Linked DNA regions of Homo sapiens: region 2 is linked to region 1. The links are contacts of gene promoters, found by promoter capture Hi-C in blood cells and fetal thymus (Javierre and others, 2016). All regions are on one chromosome and are shown on one strand. The core of a region is centred on a gene start or on the middle of the fragment in contact, and the rest is flanking DNA. Distances in the headings are between cores, read along the strand shown.

The links. Contacts are between HindIII fragments. The CHiCAGO score rates a contact against its expected background, and 5 or more counts as called.
Region 2: a fragment that was not itself captured here is called in contact with the fragment with the promoter of RAMP1 in region 1 in 6 of 17 cell types (megakaryocytes, erythroblasts, M0 macrophages and 3 more); the score reaches 11.8 in megakaryocytes.

What each region holds. Positions count from the first base shown.
Region 1 is chr2:237,857,013-237,862,791 of GRCh38, forward strand. RAMP1 (receptor activity modifying protein 1) reads left to right here and starts at 2,611. Exons shown (of 3, transcript NM_005855.4): 1 at 2,611-2,715. The coding sequence starts at 2,664. RefSeq lists enhancers at 423-1,211, 1,212-1,998. The HindIII fragment of the contact is 3,458 bases long and covers 690-4,147 here.
Region 2 is chr2:238,148,056-238,154,220 of GRCh38, forward strand. KLHL30 (kelch like family member 30) reads left to right here. Exons shown (of 8, transcript NM_198582.4): 7 at 952-1,097; 8 at 2,759-4,892. The coding sequence ends at 3,010. Among named protein-coding and RNA genes, the nearest start is that of ERFE, 7.8 kb to the right of the region's middle. RefSeq lists an enhancer at 5,227-5,726. The HindIII fragment of the contact is 8,993 bases long and covers 1-6,165 here.

The DNA of each region.
Region 1 (5,779 bases), core at 1,361-3,860:
TGGCTTCCCCAGACTCTCTTTGGGTTTCCTTTCTCCATCTGTGGTCTGCAAACTCCAGGCAGTGAGCAGTTGTAGCACTCACCTTATTTGTTTCCCTGCTCTCAGGGGTCCCTGCACTTCTTGTGGTCCACTGTGACAACTGTTGTTTCATACATTTTGTCCAGTTTTTTAGTTTAAGATGGGAAGGTGAGTCCAGTCCCTGTAACTTCATCTCGGCTGGAAGCAGGAATCTTATGTTAATAGTGAATTTTTAGCAGTGTTGACCAGGCTTTGATTGTATCTTTAGCCCTACTGTGTATGCAGTAAAGCACTTGGCCATTTTCTAATCTCTTCTATTGTTTAACCTAATGCCCCTCTAGATTGAGGTACCCTGGGAGAGGAATGATTTTCCATGCTACCTATGACCAATTAGAAATACAGATACATCAGACTACAACTTTTGAAGACGGGAAGCCCATAGTAGTTGCTAAGGAATGTCTTACTTAGACCCAAGGTACAGACAGGAAAATCATTAGGAGAGAACATGCCTCTAGGTGTGTGCCTTACTTCAGCATTCTCCAGAGAACTGTGAATTTCTAAAGCATGTGAACTTGAGAAATAGGCTTTGTCTTCTTAGGAAAATGTATCCTTTAGGGGGTGTTGAGAAAACAGCAGTGACAGGGGCCTCTGGCCTTGCCTCCTTGCAGTCAAGCTTCAAAGAGAAAACGTTGGGAAGAAAGACTCCTGCTGAGCCTGATGAAAGAGGAGTCCCAGTTGCCAACCAAAAACATGCAGCCAAAGTCCACAAGCTACAAGTAGAAAGGGTGGCTCAAGCCAGAGTCCCTGGATATGGAGGGCGAGTGATGGCTGCAGAAAGATGCAGGTTCTTCTCCCCCACTATGACTGGCCATCGCCTAGTGCAGGATGTACGGTGGCCCTGTCCCAGGGCTGTGCTGGCAGCCACCCTTCCCCACTAGCTGTGCTGCTCTCACATGGCACGGCCTCTGGCTGCCAGGCCTGTGCTCGGGCCTGCATTTCCCTTGTGCCCTTCTCTCCACCCAGCCCTCAGGACTGCCTGGGCTGCATTTTGTCCAGAATCCTTTGTCTCCTTACTTGCACTGCAGCTGAGGCGAGTGTCCCTTGTTCCGGGTGGCTCCTGTATTGTGGCGCTCATGTTATTGAGAGTCTTAGAGGTCACCCCCTAGATTCACCAATTGAAGGGCAGGGCTTGTCGATCTAACAGTGTCTTGCACATAGGGACACAAATGTCTGTTAAATGAAGAAAGTAGGGATGCCAGGCCACCCAATGGGGTGTATCTCCTAGGGTTCAAGAACAAGGGCTAATCAAGTCAAGAGAATGTGTGCCCTCCCCCACCATCTCACCCCTCACTCTCAGAACACTTGGGGCCCCTGCACAGGTGGTAGGCATGCTGGCCCTGAGTGCCCTCCCAGCCTGTGTTAGAAGAACCAGTGGATGACCTCGCTGTCAGCTGTCTCCCCTTCTCTGAGCTTACTGCAGGTGGCAGCAGCCTCTCAGCCACAGACTGTTCCCTTTCCTAGGAGAAAACGATGGTCACTCAGCAATGCTGTGCGCTTGCAGCTTCCACCACAAAAGAGACAGCTGTGGCCGCAGCACCAGGGTGGTGATTCTTCCCCCTCCAAGGGCAGTGGTGCATTCCTTAGCACAAGTATAAATTTACTGTTGCTAAGAGTTCTCGGAACAGGATAATACAAGAAGGAACCACTGCAAGTGAAATCCAGCCACCAGTAATGCCGAGAGGCCAGGCCTGTGCCTCCCAAAACCTGCTCCTCCGCAGGCTTCCCCGGCCCATCTCCAGAGCGCCCTCCTCTCACCACTTTACATAAACGAATGTACCCAAGATCCCCCATCAGTTTTCCATGCAGCTGCCAGAGTGCCACCAAAGCAAACCTCATCTCAAGACTCTGTGGCCAGGCCCTCACAACCTCCTGCCAGGCTCTCGCTACCTACCCATCAACAGCAAGACTCCCAGGCCATCTCAATCCCCCCAAAGAGCCCTGTTCCTCCAGCCCCACGGCTTCTGTTCACCTGCCGTGCTGTCCCCGCCTCTGCCCACCCACTCATCCTGCAGATCTGGAGCAGCATTCCAGGGCCTGGTAAGTGTGCGCCATTTTGGGTTACTACGGGTCTCGCCAGGCGCGGTGGCGAGTTTTGCCCCCCACGCTCCCCAGCGCCTGCACCTGGGCGGAGAGGTAGATAAGGCTGGGAGATCTTAGCCTTTTGCAAGGCAAACACCAGGCAGGAACGCCCAGAACCTCGGAGGAGGAGGAGGGGAAGATCCCCAGGTGGAGACCAAGGTGCCCCTCACGCTGAGTCGTCTAGGAGACCCTCCCTAGTTTAAAAAGTGTTTATTTGCTCGGAGAACATTTCAGGAGGCCTTCCTGGGACCCCAAGTGTGCCGCCCCCCGGGAGGGGCCTGGAGACGCCCGCGCGGCCCCCCTGCAAAGTTTTACCGGCCCTGGGCGCCCCCGGCCCTGGCACCCACGCGGGGAGCCGCAGTGGGCCGGGCCGCGCGGCCGCCGCCTCCCACCGCTCCCGCGCCCGCTCCCGCCCCCGGCGCGTCTCCTCCGGGCCCGCGCCGCGGCGGGCTCAGTCCTCAGCGGGGCGCGTGGCGAGCGGACTCGACTCGGCACCGCTGTGCACCATGGCCCGGGCCCTGTGCCGCCTCCCGCGGCGCGGCCTCTGGCTGCTCCTGGGTGAGTAGGTCCAGGGGTCCCGGCCGAGCTCCCTTCCCCTGGCCAGCCGGTGTCCTCTAGGGGAGAGGAGGGGAGCGGGTGGGAGCGGGTGGGAGCGGGTGGGGGCGGGCGCCGCGGGCGCACAGATCCGCTGCCCTTGAACGCGGGCCGCCCCGGTTCCAGGCGGGAGGCCCCAGGGCACAGGGGAGGCGGAGGGCGCGGACCGGTGTTGCGCTTCTCGCCGGGGAAGGGACGGCTTTGGGGACGTCGGAGAGCGGGCATTCTGGAAAGCGTGGGGTGAGTCAGCCCTGCACACTGGAGAACTAGTTTTCAGAAGGAAAAACAGGACGCGGGGTTCCCCAGCCCCGCACCTCGTTTCTCAGGCTGTGCGCCGCGGTGACTGCCAGCGCAGGCTCCCTTCCCTAGGCCGTCCCGCGTTGCAAAACCTGCAGACGGGCACCTTGCAGAAGACGCAGTGTTCGGGAATCAGAACCACAGCCGGTTTGTATGGAAATTAGTCAACACTGACAATCTGTCGCCTGCAGCAGTTGCTTGTTTGCAAATCACGTCTTTTGCAGAAATGAGGCCAGCCCTTTTCGGGACACTTCCATCGCTTTTTTTCTTTTTTCTTTTGGTTTGCTTGTTAACTTGGCACTTTTGGCTAATAGAAATTTAAAGAAGGACGGGTCCCTTGGTGAAGTGGTGGAACACGTTTGGCTTTCCACTTGGAGGGAGAAGTGGAGATTAGCGGCAGCCTCATGGCCACAGGAACTGGCCACACACTCGGCAAGAAACGGTGCTGTTCACTTCCCTTGTCTGTAATGTGTTCCTAAAATGCTAACTCAAGCCCCTTCTAAACCGCTTTGGCTATTGCATTATTCCGTGTATTTAGCTACCTTTTAACGGAAACTGTGAATAGGTTACTGGCGTGGGAGAACCCAGTGTCCCTGGGAAGGCCGGAGCAGTTGTTTCTGGTATGTGTGGCCTTTCCCCGGAAACAGTGATGTTGGTCAGAGGCACCTGCCGCACAAGACCTCTTTGGCGCTGGCACTGGGCAAGCAGGGACCACCGGCGCTGTTGTAGCTGGGGGAGTGGTTCGTGGCCCAGCGAGGAGAGGGGCCAGGGCTTCTTGGGAGCCATGGATTTCTGTTCCCTATTTGTAAACCTCTCCAAGGGGTGGCAGATCTGCATAGAATCCTCAGAGGCCGATATAATATAATCTGAAAGCGGATCTTGCCACTTTAGAGTTTTGGCTGAAGTTACGTGGAAAGCAGAATCTCGCAGTAATTTTATTCTCTCCATTTGGCTTGACATGGCCTTCACTGTTTTCATTTACTAAGAAACAAACATTTCTTTGTTAGCAAGGCAGAGAGCTGGGTTGTGGAATATTTTTTACATAAATAACCAAATAAATAAACGTTCTTTACTAGTGTCCAGAGGCTGAACCCTCTAAAGCTTGTGTAAATAAAACACTATGTCACGATCACATATAAAGACCTTCCTTGTTTACCGAGAAAACTATTCATGTTCTGCCGAAAGTCCAAAGTCCTGTAATTTTAACGTTATTTTGAGTGGCCTGGCTAATGTTATCTCTTGGAAGAACAAACAAAACTTTATGAGGTTATCAGTAAATTAATGTCATTGGAGCCCAGCTGTAATTAGTAGAATTACTGAGCACAGGCTGTTTCCTTCCCAAGCTGTAGCACTAGCCAGGTCTCCTTGGTGATGAAGATTTTGCTACCAAGAATGGCAATGTGGAATTTTTTTAAGTACTCTAGTTTACAGGTTTAAGAACTTATCTGTGACAATTTTACAATCAAGCTATTTGTCTTAGGTAGTTATTAAGAATCTCATAATCCGGCCAGGCATGGTGACTCACGCCTGTAATCCCAGCACTTTGGGAGGCTGAGGTGGGTGAATCGCCTGAGGTGAGGAATTCAAGACCAGCCTGGCCAACATGGTGAAACCCCGTCTCTACTAAAAATACAAAAAAAATTAGGCAGGCATGGTGGCAGGCACCTATAATCCCGGCTACTTGGGAGGCTGAGGCAGGAGAATCGCTTGAACTCAGAAGGCAGAGGTTGCAGTGAGCTGAGATCATGCCACTGCACTCCAGCCTGGGTGATAAGAGTGAAACTCCGTCTCAAAAAAAAAAAAAACTTAGGATCCATATATAGTTCTTTTCCCTCTGAGCATCCTGTGTACTCTTCTGTTTACTGGAGACTCTACATGCATTCTGAAAAGTTTGTGTATAGACACCGAAAAGCTGTTCGTTAACCAGGAAAGAAGGATGCGTTAGAAGCCCCTGGTTTTTCGAGTCCATCTTCACTCAGGGAATGCTGGCTGGTGCTGTCACACATGAACTCAGTCACCTGTCCTAGGAAACGCATGCCTTCCTTGGCTGTCACGTGGGAGCCAGGGGTTTTTTTAATGGCTGCAACATTAATTGAAATGTATGACTTTATATAAATACAAGTAGAATTGGAATGACAGGGACATCACAGGAAATGCTATGTGACTGCTTCAGATTGCCATGCGGTTTTAAATCTGGACACAGTTCTCATGCCAAAGTCCAAATCTGAAGGATTCTTATTTGTTAATCAACTCAGTGTGTTTGTTTACCCTCTCTGTGTGTCTAGCTGCAGGAAGAAATTTCTGGATTTTTGTCTTCCTTCCACAGGCGCATGCCTGTCAGCGTGCTTATTACCAGTCCGAGGCCAGGGCTGTTGAGAAACATTTATATCCACAGTGCAAATGGTAGATTCAGCTCCGGGAAATGTTTTAGGTGGAATCTTTAGTTAAGGCTAGTTGGAAAAGTCTGTCCTGATTTTTTTCCCCAGAATGCGCCCATTTCATAGCTTCTAATCAGTTACAACTGGCGTCTGGCTGACTGTGTGATGCAGGTGCCATGTGTAGTGTGAATTCCAGCGGAAATGCTGAGCCCAGAGAGTGAAGCCCCTCGGGCTTGCCTGCCAGTGCCCCTGCCAGTGCCCCCACCCCCAACTCAGGCCTAGAACCCCTCTTTCCTGACGGTCTTTGTGGTATGGTGGGCTGGCCCTCAGTGGTCTCTGAGCCAGGCCTGGCC
Region 2 (6,165 bases), core at 636-3,135, 290 kb after region 1:
CACAGGCCCCTCTGACAGGCGACAGTCCGCTCGTAGTGATGGTGAGGATTGGGGCTCCTGAGGATAGACGGGGCCCGGGGTGGAGAGAGCCGGCGGCCGCAGGCCTCTCACAAAGAGGAGGGGATGTGGAGGAAGGCAGGGGCCTAAGAGGTCAGGGACCCACTGCGTCAGCTCCGCAGAGTCCCAGCACAGAGGCGAGCTGCACGTCTGTCCTGCTCAGGCCTTAGGGCAGCAGTGGGCTGGGGCTGGGGGTGGGGGTGGGGTGCCAGTGATCTGAGCCCAGCACCTGGCAGCTGCCTGGCTGTTCTTCTACCCAAAAGGGCCTCACGGGCCGGGAGTGGTGACCCCGACCTCCGAGGCCTCGAGGCCCATCTTGGGCTCTGGACTCTGTGCCAGAGTTTGAGGCCCAGCGCAGCCTCCCTGAGCTCTGAGCCGTCCACCCCGACCCTGGTCTCCAGTCCTGTTTCACCCTCTGGACAGTGTAGATGGTGGCGGGCCCTGTTCTGAGGCGTGGATGTGAGGACCCTTCAAGAGACTGACTGGGCCCAGAGTCCAGGCAAGGCCCACCTGGGTACCAGGCCCGGGGTTGGGGGCTGGGCAGGGAGGGGCCCCCAGCAGTCCCCAGTCAGGGTGGGGTGGGTGGGGCGGCAGCCAGGCCAAAGCACCCCCACCACAGGGAGAGTCCTGAGGGACCCCTGCACCCTCCACAGGCCCCTCACCTATGCTGCAGCCTTGTGAGGGGTCACTGTCCCCAGAGGGAAAGATCGAGGCTGGGTGAGAGGCAGGTGTGGGTCCCTCCCAGCTGCACCGCAGGGACCTACTCCCATTTCACAGACAGGTTCACTGAGGTTCAGAGAGGCACTGAGTCCAGGGTCCCTCAGAGTGGGGCACAGTGCTAGTGCCCGCTCTGGCAACCCTGGTGACGGTGGCCAGTGCCCGTGCCCCCCACAGATGCGTGGAGTGTGATCGCCTCGCCCTTCCTGCCCAAGTACCTGTCCTCGCCTCGCTGTGCTGCACTGCACGGGGAGCTCTACCTCATTGGGGACAACACCAAGAAGGTCTACGTGTACGACCCCGGGGCCAACCTGTGGCAGAAGGTGGGCCGCCCCCTCCCCCAACATGTGTGAGCCCCTGCCCAGGACTCCTGACATCAGAGAGCCAGCCTGGGAAGTGAGGGATGGGGTGCCACAGAGGGCCCACTGCGAAGGGGACAGCGCAGGCTGGGGTGCCCACAGAGGGCCCACAGTGAAGGGGGTGGCGCAGGCTGGGGTGCCCACAGAGGGCCCACAGTGAAGAGGGTGGCGCAGGCTGGGGTGCCCACAGAGGGCCCACAATGAAGGGGGTGGTGCAGGCTGGGGTGCCCACAGAGGGCCCACAATAAAGTGGGTGGCGCAGGCTGAGATCCCCCCAGGCTACAAGGTGACAATAGTGCCCTGGCCCGAGTCCCCTTGAGGACAGGGGTGACGGTGATGGTGGGAGAACGCGATTTGGGTTGCCGGCCACTGGTGCTCTGTCCCTGCACACCCAGCTTCCTACAGAGGAGTGGCCTGTCCTCCTTCTCAGGGAGAAAAGCCAGGTTCAGCCGGAGGGTACTATAGGGACCAGGAGGGAGGGCATCCTCTGCCCCAGGGTGGCCAAGTTGGGGAGGGGGTTCCTGAGCTGAGGGTGAGGTGAGAGCCACCAGCCTGGGGGCTTTCCTGTTGTCCTCAGTGCCATCCCACCATGGCCCACTCTTTGACCATCAGTGCCTGAGGAAGGGGAGGGAGGTGAGCCTCTGGGCGGCCTCCCTGGTGAAGGGGACAGTGCCCAGGAAGTTGGGGATGGGTCCTGGCACCAAGCCAGATGCCCTGGACCTGCCCACCTGCCCCAAGACTCCCAGTCCCTGCAGGCTGAGAAGGTGGAACTCCTTCCTGCAGCCCCCCTGCAGGCTGCTGGCCTGGTGACAGCAGGACTTCTGCAATCCTGCTGCCCACAGCTGTCCCCTGGCGTCACTGCTCAGCTGACCCAGGGCCCCCATTACAGCGGTGAGACAGGTGCAGGGTGGGCCCTGCCAGGCTAGCGTGTCTGCCTGGGCCCTCCCAGCTGGGCCACAGCCAGGCCTTCCTCCAGCCCAGGCCACTGTCCCAGGCTCAGGTCCCAGCACAGCAGGGCTCTGCCTTACCCTCTCCAGGCCTGGGTCCTCACCTCTTCCCTGTCTTCATCTGGAGGCCACAGACCGGCCTCCCGCTTCCCACCCGCCCGGGCTCTTCCTGAAGCCGCAGCTCTCTCCAGCCTCTGGAAAGCCACCCGCCCTCACCCCACAACCCCTCCCAGGGGCACTCCCAAGGCCATAGACTGAGCAGGGGGTGCAGGGGTGAGGCAAGGGAACCCACGGTGGGCTTGTCTAGGCTTTTCCTGATTGTCTGCCAGGGCTGAGCCACACCTGTCTCCTGTGAGACAGCGAAGCCTCAGTGAGGCCTCGAGTCAGCCCGGACCTCCCCGGGAGGCCTCAGGGCCCCCTCTGACTGCAGGGGTTGGAAGTGTCATCCCAAGGGCTGAGGGTCAGAGAGGGAAAGGGACCTCCCCACCAAAAGAAGAGTCTGAGGAGGCTGGAGGGGCTGCGGTGGGCTGCCCAGGGACTCTGCGCTCATGCCCTGGAGGGGATCTGGGCCAGGTGGCTGGCTGTCCTCTCTGCCACTCCCCCGACCCTGCTGAGGGCACCCTCAGCCCTGCTCTCCAGCTCCCGCCCACCGGACGCTAACCCGCTGACCGTGCACAGGTGCAGTCACAGCACAGCCTGCATGAGAATGGCGCGCTGGTGCCACTGGGTGATGCGCTGTACGTGACGGGCGGCCGCTGGCAGGGCATGGAAGGTGACTACCACGTGGAGATGGAGGCCTACGACACGGTTCGGGACACCTGGACCCGCCACGGCGCCCTGCCCCGGCTCTGGCTCTACCACGGGGCCTCCACCGTCTTCCTGGATGTCTCCAAGTGGACCCAGCCCTCCGGCCCCACCCAGGAGCACTAAACCAGGGCCAGGGTCCCCGGGGAGGAGTCCCCACAGCGGCCCCTCATCAGCCTGTGGAACGGCCCCTTTCATTTTCGCTTATTTGTTCACTCGGAGCTACCATTCCTTCCAAGCTGCGCTCAGGCCACCAGGGGTGATCAGACGGCATGGCTTGGAGGACACAGCCTTGGTCTCTGTGGCCACCACACTAAACTCTGAGCTGAGCAGTGACAAGGGCCTGAGTGCCAGACGCTGGCATAACAGGGACAGGAAGCTCTGCTGCCCCTGGGGTTCCCGAGACCTCAGAGAGGGGAGCCGGGGGCCGGGCCAGCATTCCCAGAGCTTGCGAGCCCCACTCCTGCCCCTGGACCCCAGCAGGGGCTTTTGGAGCAGTTGCATGAATGTGGGGTGAACACGGAGCGTCCCAGAAAGCTGAGGCTGCTGGGGAAGGCAGGCCCCGGAGATGGGATCAGCACCAGGTCCTCGTGGGCCTGCTTCTGCCCAGCTCACGGCAGCGTAACTGTGGCCAGCCACCTCCCCTCTCTGGGCTTCAAGCTCCGCGTCCACCACACACGGGGCTGGCTGTGTGGGCTTTGGGTCCCCACTCAGGCTTTGCATGTTGGTGCTGTGTTTCTGCTTCTGTGGACAAAGGAGGCCCCCACCCATCTCTTGCACCCAGAGGGCGGTGCCCACAGAGGCACCAGGAAGGAGGGAGGCAGGGCGTGGGGCGGGGCTGGAGGGTCCCAGGGAGGTGAGCAGTTTTGCTCTCAGAAGGGATTGCCTCCGTCTCTGTGTGTCAGAACAAAGGCTCTTCATTAGAATGGAATTTCCCACCAGGGGACGACTCTTGGGTGCATTGGTGGCAGCCTCCTGAGGGTGAGGGGTAGCATCCGATGGGCCCCTGCCAGCATGCAGCCCGACTCCGGCTGGCTCAGGCTCCGAGTGGCTTCTCCCTCATCCTGAATGAGGCACCCACCTTTGCAGCTAAGGAGACAATGAAGGACTCTCCCTGGGTGCCCAATGGCGTGTCCCTCCTGTCACAGGCTCCGCCCTGGGACATGGGGCTAGAAGTCAGGAGTCGGGCCCGGCCAGGCACAGGCCCTGGTGTTGCCCCAGAGGCCCTGGGCAGCTCCGGTCTCCCGCCGGATCCAGGCTTCCTCTCCAGGACCAGCCCCTGGGTTCCTCCTTAACACCCCCCGCCCCTGGGGACCAGAGGGGCCTCTGACATCCTTGGGTTCTGAGGACGGAAACCCCTGAGCCTCTTGAGCTTCTGTAGGTAGGGATCTGCTTTGCTCCCAGACCTGCCTCTCATAGCTTTTTTTTTTTTTTTTTTTTTTTTTTGAGACGGAGTCTCGCTCTTGTCGTCCAGGCTGGAGTGCAATGCTGAGATCTTGGCTCACTGCAACCTCCACCTCCCGGGTTCAAGAGATTCTCCTGCCTTAGCCTCTCAAGTAGCTGGGATTACAGGCACTCGCCACCACGCCTGACTAATTTTTGTATTTTTAGTAGAAACAGGGTTTCACCATGTTGACCAGGCTGGTCTTGAACTCCTGACCTCAGGTGATCCGCCCGCCTCAGCCTCCCAAAGTGCTGGGATTACAAGGTGTGGGAGAAGTGAGTTGACCCTGGAGGGCCAGACAGAGTGGGGCCTCTGGGTGCTACCAAAGGAACAAGAGCCCAGAGCTGAGGAGACCTTCGGTGGCAGATGGATTGGATGAAGCAAGGGTGAGGGTTTCTGGGGCCCTGGGCTCTGTTTCCATGTGGAAATCTGAAATGTTTTCTAGACAGTGATGGAAGGAGGTCAGCCAAAGGGCTGTTTAAAAACAAAGCCTCCATGTAAACCATTTCTGCAAGAATATTTTAAAATAAATAAAAATAAAACTGAAGACATGAAATGTCAAAATAGGCTGGCTTTGATCACAAAGTAGCCAAAAGGGCGGCGTGCCAGAGCAACGCCTGCTGTCCACCCTTGCACACCCTATGGGAATATGGGCGGTCCTCGGGTGGAAGGAGTGGGCCTCTCCAGGGCCTGGCTCCCAGCTTTGAGGTGCCAAAGTGCACCTCGTCCGATCAGCTGGGCTCCTGATTCAGGGGGCCATCGCAGCCTTCAGGGCACCAGGAGGAAAGGGGCGTCTGCTGGGTATTGAGGTGAGTGGCTAAGGAGAGTTTCACGACGGCCTCTCCCCATGCTGTGGGCAGGGTGAAGGGAGCCCAGTGGCTGGAGAGGCATCCCAGGACAGCAGCAGTGGGAGTGCCACCCCCCCCACCCCGTCTTGGGAGAAGGGAAAGGGCAGACGCAGACTCCAGGGAGCTGCTGAGAGAGGGCCTTGGCGGGGGAACGCAGCCACCACCCCTGTTGTCCAGCTGGGAGGAGGTGGCAGAGTCCATCTGCCCTCTCTCTCTGGCCTGCCCCCTGTCTCCCACTAGCGCCTCCTACAGGCCAAGCCCAACCAGAACCCAGAGGGAAGAGAGGCCATTGACAGGCTGTAGTGGCCACCTGGGGACACAGAACAGGTGGAGAAGGTGGCCAGGGCACCAGGACGGCGGCCAGAAGGTCCGGCACACGTCACCCACTTGAGAGCTTTGCACGAAGGGACATTAATGCACTCACTCACCAAGCGACAGCCATAGGGCAGCCAAGGTATCCCCTTCCATCATCAAAATCCAGGACAGCAAGGACTCATTAGAAGGCTTGAGGCTAATATGGGCTTCTAGAAAGGGGAGCGCGTAGCCTTGGAACATGTGCAAATGCCCACAGGGGTGTGCGGGCGAAACCCACCTCCAGGCCCCATGTGCTCATGTCCTCCAGGTAGGTGCGTGTTGTCTTTCCCATAGAGGATGCTGGGTAAACTGAGGCCCCTCAGCCTTCAGTGAGCACACAGGGCCCTCAGCCAGGCCCAGCACTGCCAACTGTATCTCAGCTCCCCCGGGTCCCCAAGTAAGCTGGGGCCTAGGCATGCTTCCAGCCACTTCCACCGGACTTGAGTTTTCCAACACCTCACAGACAGGCCCCTTTTATTATCTGGCATCTTCTCTATTCAGGCAGGGACAGTGGTTGCTGGGATCAGGCCATTGACACCCTCATGTGACTGTAATTAAATGGACTGGTCACCTGACAGTTTTCCATAGTCAGTATAGACCATGACATAGCTTGGAGATCTGTCCCCTCCGAATCT